Regions from separate parts of the Homo sapiens genome. Here regions 1 and 2 are each linked to region 3. Evidence: promoter capture Hi-C in 16 types of primary human blood cells and fetal thymus (Javierre and others, 2016). All regions are on one chromosome and are shown on one strand. The core of a region is centred on a gene start or on the middle of the fragment in contact, and the rest is flanking DNA. Distances in the headings are between cores, read along the strand shown.

Region 1 (2,705 bases), core at 44-2,543, 130 kb after region 3:
CTGTTGAAGTGATCCAGGCTGAACTGAAGGCTGGCAGTGTGTATTCGTGGTTTTCTAAGGTGGTGGAAGTAGAGAGCCCTGGCCACTCACGGCCCTATCCAGCGCTGCCTTTGTGTGGTGCAGCAGTAGCTAGAGAGCCTAGCAAGCTTTTCCTAGAGAGTTAATTCAGTTCGGTGAGTTCAGTGAGCAGTATGGGCTGAGAGAGCCCTCAAAATTCAACGTAGCACTGGCTCTCCCAGCAGCAGGCATTGTTCAGGTGAGACAGAATGGTTGCCTGAGGAAGTAGTGTGCTGGGGAGACTGCAGGGATTAAGGTCATCCTCTTCCAGATTTTCATTAAGTCTGAAATGCTCTCCTTGGCTCCACAAGAGATCCTCTTGCTATTCCTACTGTGGTGTACGGACAGCTTATGGTTTACTTCTTACAGTTTCCTGTTTCAGATAAGGGGAAGCATGGCCAAGATGGTTCTGTGAGTCAGGCCCAGAAGGGTAATGGGGTTGTTTTCTTGGGAGGCACATGGGCACGGGTAGTATTATTAATATTTCAAGCCAATTGGAAAGGATTGATGTTTCATTATAAAAATATGAAGCAAAATACTTCATTTCAGTGTTTCTATTTCTGGAAATACAAACTAAGTAACAAATTGTTGTCTTGACTTGCAAATTGTTGGTTTCAAGGTCAACATCTGAACTTTCTTTATTGCTCCCTTTAAAATTAAGAAGTTTCTGGATTAATGGTAGTTATCACTCCCAAATTCAGATTCTGCATATCAGCCTAGCTGTCCCTAATGTGGTAGTCTAATTAGAAGGAAAATTGCTGGAATAACCCTGCAGGTTTATCTCACTTGTTTCTTGTTTCCCTTTTGAACCTTTCAGGTACGACAGTGCCAGCCCACAGGGCCATCCTGGTGGCCCGTTGTGAAGTGATGGCAGCCATGTTTAATGGTAATTACATGGAAGCAAAGAGTGTCCTGATTCCCGTTTATGGTGTTTCCAAAGAGACTTTCTTGTCATTTTTAGAATACCTGTACACAGACTCCTGCTGCCCAGGTTAGCAATACAAATGTTGATAGTATCTCAGAATTCTTTCTTTCCTTGCCACCCATTTTGTTAAATTGCACTCTGTGGAATCTATTTTCATTTAAGATTTATTAGTTGACATCACGGAATGTACTAAGCAATTAGAGGTGGTGCTGGAACAACAATGAATTTTCATTCAGTTCAAGTGGAAGTGCAGTGATTGGGTGCCTTTTATGGGTCTCCGACGCCGGCACAAGTTCACATGTCCCAGCCAGCACCTACAGCATGGGGATCACTGTAGGCAACTAGAAATGGAGGTGTCTTGTGGTACCCATGGCTACCGTAATTCTAGAGATCGGGGCAGATTGTTACTTGGAGCGCTGTCTCTTCCACAAGAAGAGGAGGGTTGCGCAACTGCTTTGATGTCTGTGACTTCTGATTGGGGCACTTTTAAGGACTTTCAATATTCTGAGACTTTTTTGGTCTTCCTTCTGCCCAGAGGATGTGGGATTTGTAAAGGCCTCCTTCTGACTTCTGCTAAAGTCAGAAACTCCTCAAACTGACTTCTCTGAAAACTTTTCTTGAGATGTTTAGAATACCCAGTGGACTGTAGGATTCATTTCCAAATTCACTGACCAAGGACTATCTTTGACCAGGAACCAAACATCTGTGACAGCTCTAGGTTGGAACAGATCCAGCAGGGTTCTTCTAGCTGGAGGCACTTGAAGAAATAGCAAAATTTTTTCTACAGGCCTGGAGCCTTGCTTGGGATGCTGGCAGGGAAGCCCTCTGTGAGTAGTCTTCAGCCTTTGGCCACCAGATGGCTCCCACCACAAGCACAACTAGATTCGGCCCCGTGGAGCTCAGTTCAGGAGCCTGAGACCTTGATTAGAGAACCTGGTCAGGCACCCTAATAAACATAAAAAGCAAACACACATTTCAAGCCAGACCTCTCTTCAGATTCACTGCTTTAATTTTTAGAATGGAAAGGTTTCTTACACTGGGTATTGAAATAAGTTTTAAACAAGTCATGAGCCCTCTAGTGAAAGATTTTAGAAGTTCAAAAAGAAGCAAATGTATTTGTGTTGATTAAATTAATTCTGGGCTTGCAGCTTTCTGTAGAGTATTTTGGAGCCAGTTGCAGTTGTTTCTGTCAGTGTTAAAGACTGACTTACGGCCAGGTGCCGTAGCTCATGCCTGTAATCTGAGCACTTTGGAAGGCTGAGGTGAGCAGATCACCTGAAGTCAGTTCAAAAACAGCCTGACCAACATGGTGAAACCCCGTCTCTACTAAAAATACAAAAATTAGCTGGGCATGGTGACGTGTGCCTGTAATCCCAGCTACACGGGAGGCAGAGGCAGGAGAATCGCTTGAACCTGTGAGGCAGAGGTTGCAGTGAGCCAAGATGGCGCCACCACACTCAAGCTTGGGTGACCGAGTGAGACTCCGTCTCAAAAAAAGACTTAGTATTTTTGCCTAATAAAAATGAAAGCATTTGTTCTTTTTGGAAATAAAGCTTATTGTTTATTATTTCATTGTTGGCAAATCTGTATATTAAATTTACAAATTGACCAGATTTGGAGTAATAGGAAAATTTGATTTTCAGTCATCCTCTCACTCAAGTAATTGAAGCTGCTAATATTAAGTTTTACCTTGCTAATTAGAAAATATTACAGAGGAAAGCAG
Region 2 (2,770 bases), core at 106-2,605, 190 kb after region 3:
GGTCTACTAATCATGACTACACTGGGAAAGAGGGGACAGAGAATTTGGTAGTCATGGCAGACCCAAGTATCTTACTTCTGCAGATTTGAGGAATACCAGAGAACTGTGAAGAGACTGAGCTTGAAAGTCCATCTCAAAAGGTCTTTGCCCTTCAGCAGTGACATGGCAGTGGGGAGGAAGGAAGAAAACAGGCTGTCTTTGTGTGGCTGGTGATGCCTAAGTGCTGGAGCGTGAGACAGTCCCCAGGCCCTGTGCCATAGCTGACATGCAGGAATAGGCGTTGGCACTGGGGAGAGCCAGTCTGCTTGTGACAGAAGCAGCAGATGATCAGAAATGGAGGGCGCTTTCTGACAATGACACCATCATCCCACAGGGAAGGAACATCTGACTCTTGGCTCCCACTAAGATGCTGCCAGAGCGGCTGGTCTCAAAGGGCAAAACAACAGCCCCTGATGGAAAGTCTTCACGACGCAGCCTCCGAGGTCCTTCCGCTCAAGGTAAGAGCCCTGCTTGCCTGGCTCTAACTGGATTCCTGAAAACACTCAGGCACAGGGCAAGCTGAGGAAGGGGTGGTGTGGGGCGGGGCGGTGGCAACAAGTCAGTCTTCTGAATCCCCTATCAAAAATCTGGGAAAGGTAGCTTTTTACAATGAGGGTTGGAAACACTGACACAGAGGATGCTGACTGGGGAGGTTTGGAGCCAACCATGGGACCAGGCCTGTCCATTACAATAGAACCAACAGGGCAACCTGGAGTCACATAGGCTAATCTAAACCAGCCTGACTGATCCCCATGTCCTTCCCAGGACTTCACTGCTCCAAGAGTAATCAGTCACGTGTCTCAGTAGCAGGAATGAAATCTTTGACCTCACAGCAAGTGAAGCTGGTGAAGGAACAGAAGAGAAGTGAGAATAGGTCCATCTCCACAATGAGGGGAGGACAGCATGGAAGAGGGAGTCCAGGCCCTGCCAGCTGAGGAGATGGGGACATAAGGCACAGCTGTGGTAACCCTGGGCCACCACTCTCCAGCGTCCCCAAAGCCTGCTGTGGTACTCTGTGGCTGCCCTCTGCATCCTGTCTGGCTACCAAGGCGAAAGGGTCTCAGCTGTTTAGGCTAGTGCCAGCCATGCTCCCTCTAATGCCTAAGTGAGGGTTCCGAGGCCTCCACTTCAGCATCTGGGATACTACAAGGGGGACCCAGGAGGAGAAGGGGCCCTAAACATGATCAGGGGATTTTGGCATCCAAACGTGTTGGCCTGGAGACTGTGGGGAGCATAGAAGCTTGGAGAACACACAGCAGGTGTTGATGTGAGGCTGGGCGATGGGGAAATGGAGACTGGGGTTGGGAAACCAACCCCTGGAACAGAGGAAACACAACGCCTTAGGCCTTTACATAACCAGCTTTCAACCTGTCTGCACAGGAGAGTCTCCTGGGAAGCTTTAAAAATACCTGTCTGGGCCCCAACCCGGAACAACTAAATTGGAACCCCAGGGGTCCTCTTGGACTTATGCTCCTTCTAGAGACCTTTCTTCCTCAGTGGAAAACCCACTCAAAGGTGTCTTTTCCGTCTTTGCCGGAAGGCAGAAAATTCACTTGGCACACAGGCTTCTCTGCCAAGTCTTGGGAAGTTTACCTACTCTGTGAGGTGCTGTTTCACTATGAAATTTACTCCCCGTGACGTTCAATCCAGGAAACTGAGTCTCAAGGACCCTGGCTAACAACGGCCCTCACCTCCCTTTGGGTGTATCCCCATTTATTTATGGAAAGTATTTTCTGCCACGTGAAGCACAAAGATTTACTGAGAGGAGGGTGTAGCAGAGTGGTGGGTTAATCCTGAGTGGAGTTGCTTTGCTGTGCAGGTAACTTCCTCTTCCCCCTTACAGCATGAACAGACAGGCCTTTGTGTTCTGAGTTCTTGATTCCCTTGTCCTGGGTGTGGAATGGACAAACACTAAGCTCTTTTGCTTTTTAGAATGGAGATATTGTTTTGAAATGTAAGCTGGAGAAAGGTAGGAGACAGCAACTAGGCTTTGAGAAGAAGGGAGTGGCCTGGCTCTGATGGTAGAGAGAGAGTGGCCAGTCTTGAGTGGTGGGGACTTGCATGCCACTCACCATCCAGCACCCAAGTTGAGATGTACATCTCAGGTGAACTGAGTGAACTGAGGCCATGGACACCTAGGGATGAGACCCGGAGTCTCAGGAACTGGGAGCCAAGTGAAAGGGCCAAAGACCTCGTCTGACCTGGAGATGGTGGGGGCCACCAGAGGAGCCTGCAGATGGGGGCATCGTCCTGGGGACCTGGACAATAAGCAGCTCACTGGCTACCATGCTGCACTAAAGGCCCCTGCCCAATGTTCCTGAATGGTGGAAACTCTAGGACTCTAGACTTCTTTGATCTTCCCAAGGGAGGGATAAGCACAAGGTGATTGGGGTCTGGGCCAGATTTAATTTTCTTTAGAGAAATTAAGAAATGTGGCAATTGTGTTTTTTTTTTTTTTTTTTTTTTTTGAGACAGAGTCTCACTCTGTCGCCAGGCTGGTGTGATCTGGGCTCACTGCAATCTCCGCCTCCTGAGTTCAAGTGATTGTCTTGCCTCAGCCTCCTGAGTAGCTGGGACTACAGGCACCCGCCACCACGCCCAGCTAATTTTTGTATTTTGGGTAGAGACGGGGTTTCACCACGTTGCCCAGGGTGGTCTCCATCCCTTGACCTCATGATCCGCCCACCTCAGCCTCCCAAAGTGCTGGGATTACAGGCATGAGCTACCGCGC
Region 3 (2,704 bases), core at 156-2,655:
ATAGCACACTGAGGTAAATGGACAAAGTTCCTGGGTTTCGGCTGCCCCAGTTCATTGGGCCACCCTAGAGCCTGAGATCACTATGTCACCATACTAAATACAAGTTGTAGTGTTCAACCTTGGGTTCACACTGGAATCACTCAGGAAGTTAAAAACATACATTGAATCTGCCCACTCCCTTCCCACCCCAAATAATCTGTGTTTTATTTTGTTGGTCTGGCATACAGACTGGGCATTACGACTTTTCAAAACTCCCAAGCGACTCTAAGGCATAGCCAGGGTTAAGAATCACTGCACTGGAAAGTAGTCAAGGAAATTAAAAACTTAGGCTCATCTAGTTTCCCAGCTCGGAACACAAATATGAGGGTTTTGGTGGTTTTCTTTGTTGTTGTTGTTGTCAATTCAGGGAAGTACAATGAGAAAAAAGCAAAATTGCAAAGTTCATAATATGAAAGTGAAAACTCTCCATCTCCTCCCAAAGCAACCACTATTGTTTCTTTTGATTTTTCGAGAAAAAGTTTATGTACATACCTGCATGTTTGTATTTCAAAAAATAATTGTTTACATTAAAGAGAGGACACCATATATAGTATTCTACGCTTTGCCTTTAATATTCATTACATGATGGGCCTGTCCTTTGAGTATACAGTACACAGCTACGAAGTAATTCACATGTCTGTACTGTTGTGCTGTGTTTTATTGAACCATTCCTCCGTGTTATCACTTCAGCTATTTTCACTACTTCACAGCAATAAACATTTTTTTTTTTTTTGAGATGGAGTTTCGCTCGTGTTGTCCAGGCTGGAGTGCAACGGCGCGATCTCGGCTCACCGCAACCTCTGCCTCCTGGATTCAAAGCGATTCTCCTGCCTCAGCCTCCTGAGTACCTGCGATTACAGGCCTGGGCCACCACGCCCGGCTAATTTTGTATTTTTAGTAGAGATGGGGTTTCTCCATGTTGGTCAGGCTGGTCTCAAACTCCCGACCTCAGGTGATTCGCCCGCCTCGGCCTCCCAAAGTACTGGGATTACAGGCGTGAACCACCGCGCCCGGCCTTAACATCCTTATACATGGGTTACCAGCATCGCGACGACCTTCTGCAAATATTTTTATAGGGTAAATAACTGAATGAAGTCGCTGGGCGCATCTAAAATTTGAATAAATGTAATGAGATCAACAAACAACTAAAAAGTAAACTGATGCTATCCACATTTGTCAAGTACACGAGTATGCCTGCCAGTTTGAAGGTGCTGGCGCGGCGCTGTTGGCCAGAGATCTCTATCAACCAGGGTCATCTGCCGGCAATGCCATAGAGGCGGTCCCGGGGGCGGGCCTTCTTGGGTCACGTGGACGGCCTCGCCCCGCCCCCGTCGAGGCGCCGCGCACGTCTGGAGCTCTGGCTCGTGCAGTAGCGTCACGCGGAGGCGGAGCGAGGACTCGGGGACAGTAAGTTCTGTTCTCGCCGCGCAGGGGGCGGGCTGGCGGGACCAGCTGCTTCCGGCTGGGCTGCGGGCGTGGACTCCTCATTCCGGCTGTGGCCGCGCCGCTGCGGGGCCTGAGGCCCTCTTGGGTTTTGGTTCAGCGTTAGTTAACGGTTAACCCGCCAAGGCGGGCTTCCGCCCAGGCACAGGAGACTCACCGAGCTTGTTCACCTTGAAACTTGGGCCACACCTGAGACCTGCCACCTAAGGGGGGTACGCGGGTCGTTTTTAACAAGCTTTCATGGCATTTGTGCCATGAAAGCTCTAAAGTATAGAAGCTGCTCCAGGGCTTCCGCAGCCCCGGCCGTCCTGGAGATACTCGCCTCCTGGAGTCTGTGTCGAGAATTTGCAGCACCTGGACAGCCACGTGCAGTCTCAGAACTGCAGGCGGTCTTTACCGAAATGTTAAACACAACTTGAAGTTAGGCAGGATAACTGCCAGAGCTGGATGGACCTTAGAGGTGCCAGCTAACGCGCTGTGAGCGTTTTCTGCGGTTAGGCCTGCTCTAAACATTTGACATGTGTTAAAGCATTTATGTGCTTTACCCACACCCCTATGTGGCGGGCCCTTCTTAAAGTAAAAGAAACTGCAGCACAGCGAAGTTAAGCAACTTGCCCCAAATCACGCAGAACTGGGATGCAAACCCAGGTCTAGCTCACTCGTGATCACAATTCAACATCATACGATGGTGCTGATTTCCAGAGCAGCTCTGTGACTTTATATAAAATTATTGGGCAAGCGTTCAATTGTAAACATTCGTGAACATAGCTGTTGCACATTAGCGTTCCTTTTTTTTTTTAATTCAGGACCATCTTTGGTGACAAATATAAATATCAATACTATATATATCACCAATATACATATTTGCTTTGCTAAAAGGTTTCTGTGTCTTCAGGATAGTTTACTTGCAAGCCTCATGTTTTTATAAAAACGTGGGTGCTACCTGAATAAAACTAATGCCTACCCGTTGGCGGTTTTGTGAAGACTAATGAACTATTATATTCAAAGGGTCCAAGCAGTAGGCATTTACTAAAGGACAGCTAGTTTTATCTGTTATTATTCTGCCATTCAGAGAGATACCAAAACTACTCTCTAAGGCATTTCTCTTCCCTGCATGTAAAAGCAAGGGTGTCATACTTGAGATAAGCATTCTGATAATGTGTAGGCAAAGTTTCCACACTTGGTAAAAGCATCTTAGTCATGGTTCAAGACGAGTGACAAG

The links. The method cuts DNA at HindIII sites, captures the fragments that hold promoters and counts their contacts. A CHiCAGO score of 5 or more calls a contact.
Region 1: a fragment that was not itself captured here is called in contact with the fragment with the promoter of RFESD in region 3 in 1 of 17 cell types (megakaryocytes); the score reaches 5.0 in megakaryocytes.
Region 2: a fragment that was not itself captured here is called in contact with the fragment with the promoter of RFESD in region 3 in 13 of 17 cell types (activated CD4 T cells, non-activated CD4 T cells, total CD8 T cells and 10 more); the score reaches 10.1 in activated CD4 T cells.

What each region holds. Positions count from the first base shown.
Region 1 is chr5:95,779,378-95,782,082 of GRCh38, forward strand. It overlaps RHOBTB3 (Rho related BTB domain containing 3), which reads left to right. Exons shown (of 12, transcript NM_014899.4): 9 at 875-1,048. Among named protein-coding and RNA genes, the nearest start is that of GLRX, 42 kb to the right of the region's middle. RefSeq lists an enhancer at 1,868-1,917. The HindIII fragment of the contact is 2,298 bases long and covers 145-2,442 here.
Region 2 is chr5:95,837,947-95,840,716 of GRCh38, forward strand. The region is part of intron 1 of LOC124901029 (a long non-coding RNA gene); the gene reads right to left. It overlaps LOC102724720 (a long non-coding RNA gene), which reads left to right. Exons shown (of 3, transcript NR_157807.1): 2 at 374-497. Among named protein-coding and RNA genes, the nearest start is that of LINC01554, 13 kb to the right of the region's middle. The HindIII fragment of the contact is 157 bases long and covers 1,278-1,434 here.
Region 3 is chr5:95,645,372-95,648,075 of GRCh38, forward strand. It overlaps RFESD (Rieske Fe-S domain containing), which reads left to right and starts at 1,406. Exons shown (of 6, transcript NM_001131066.2): 1 at 1,406-1,446. The HindIII fragment of the contact is 4,150 bases long and covers 1-1,715 here.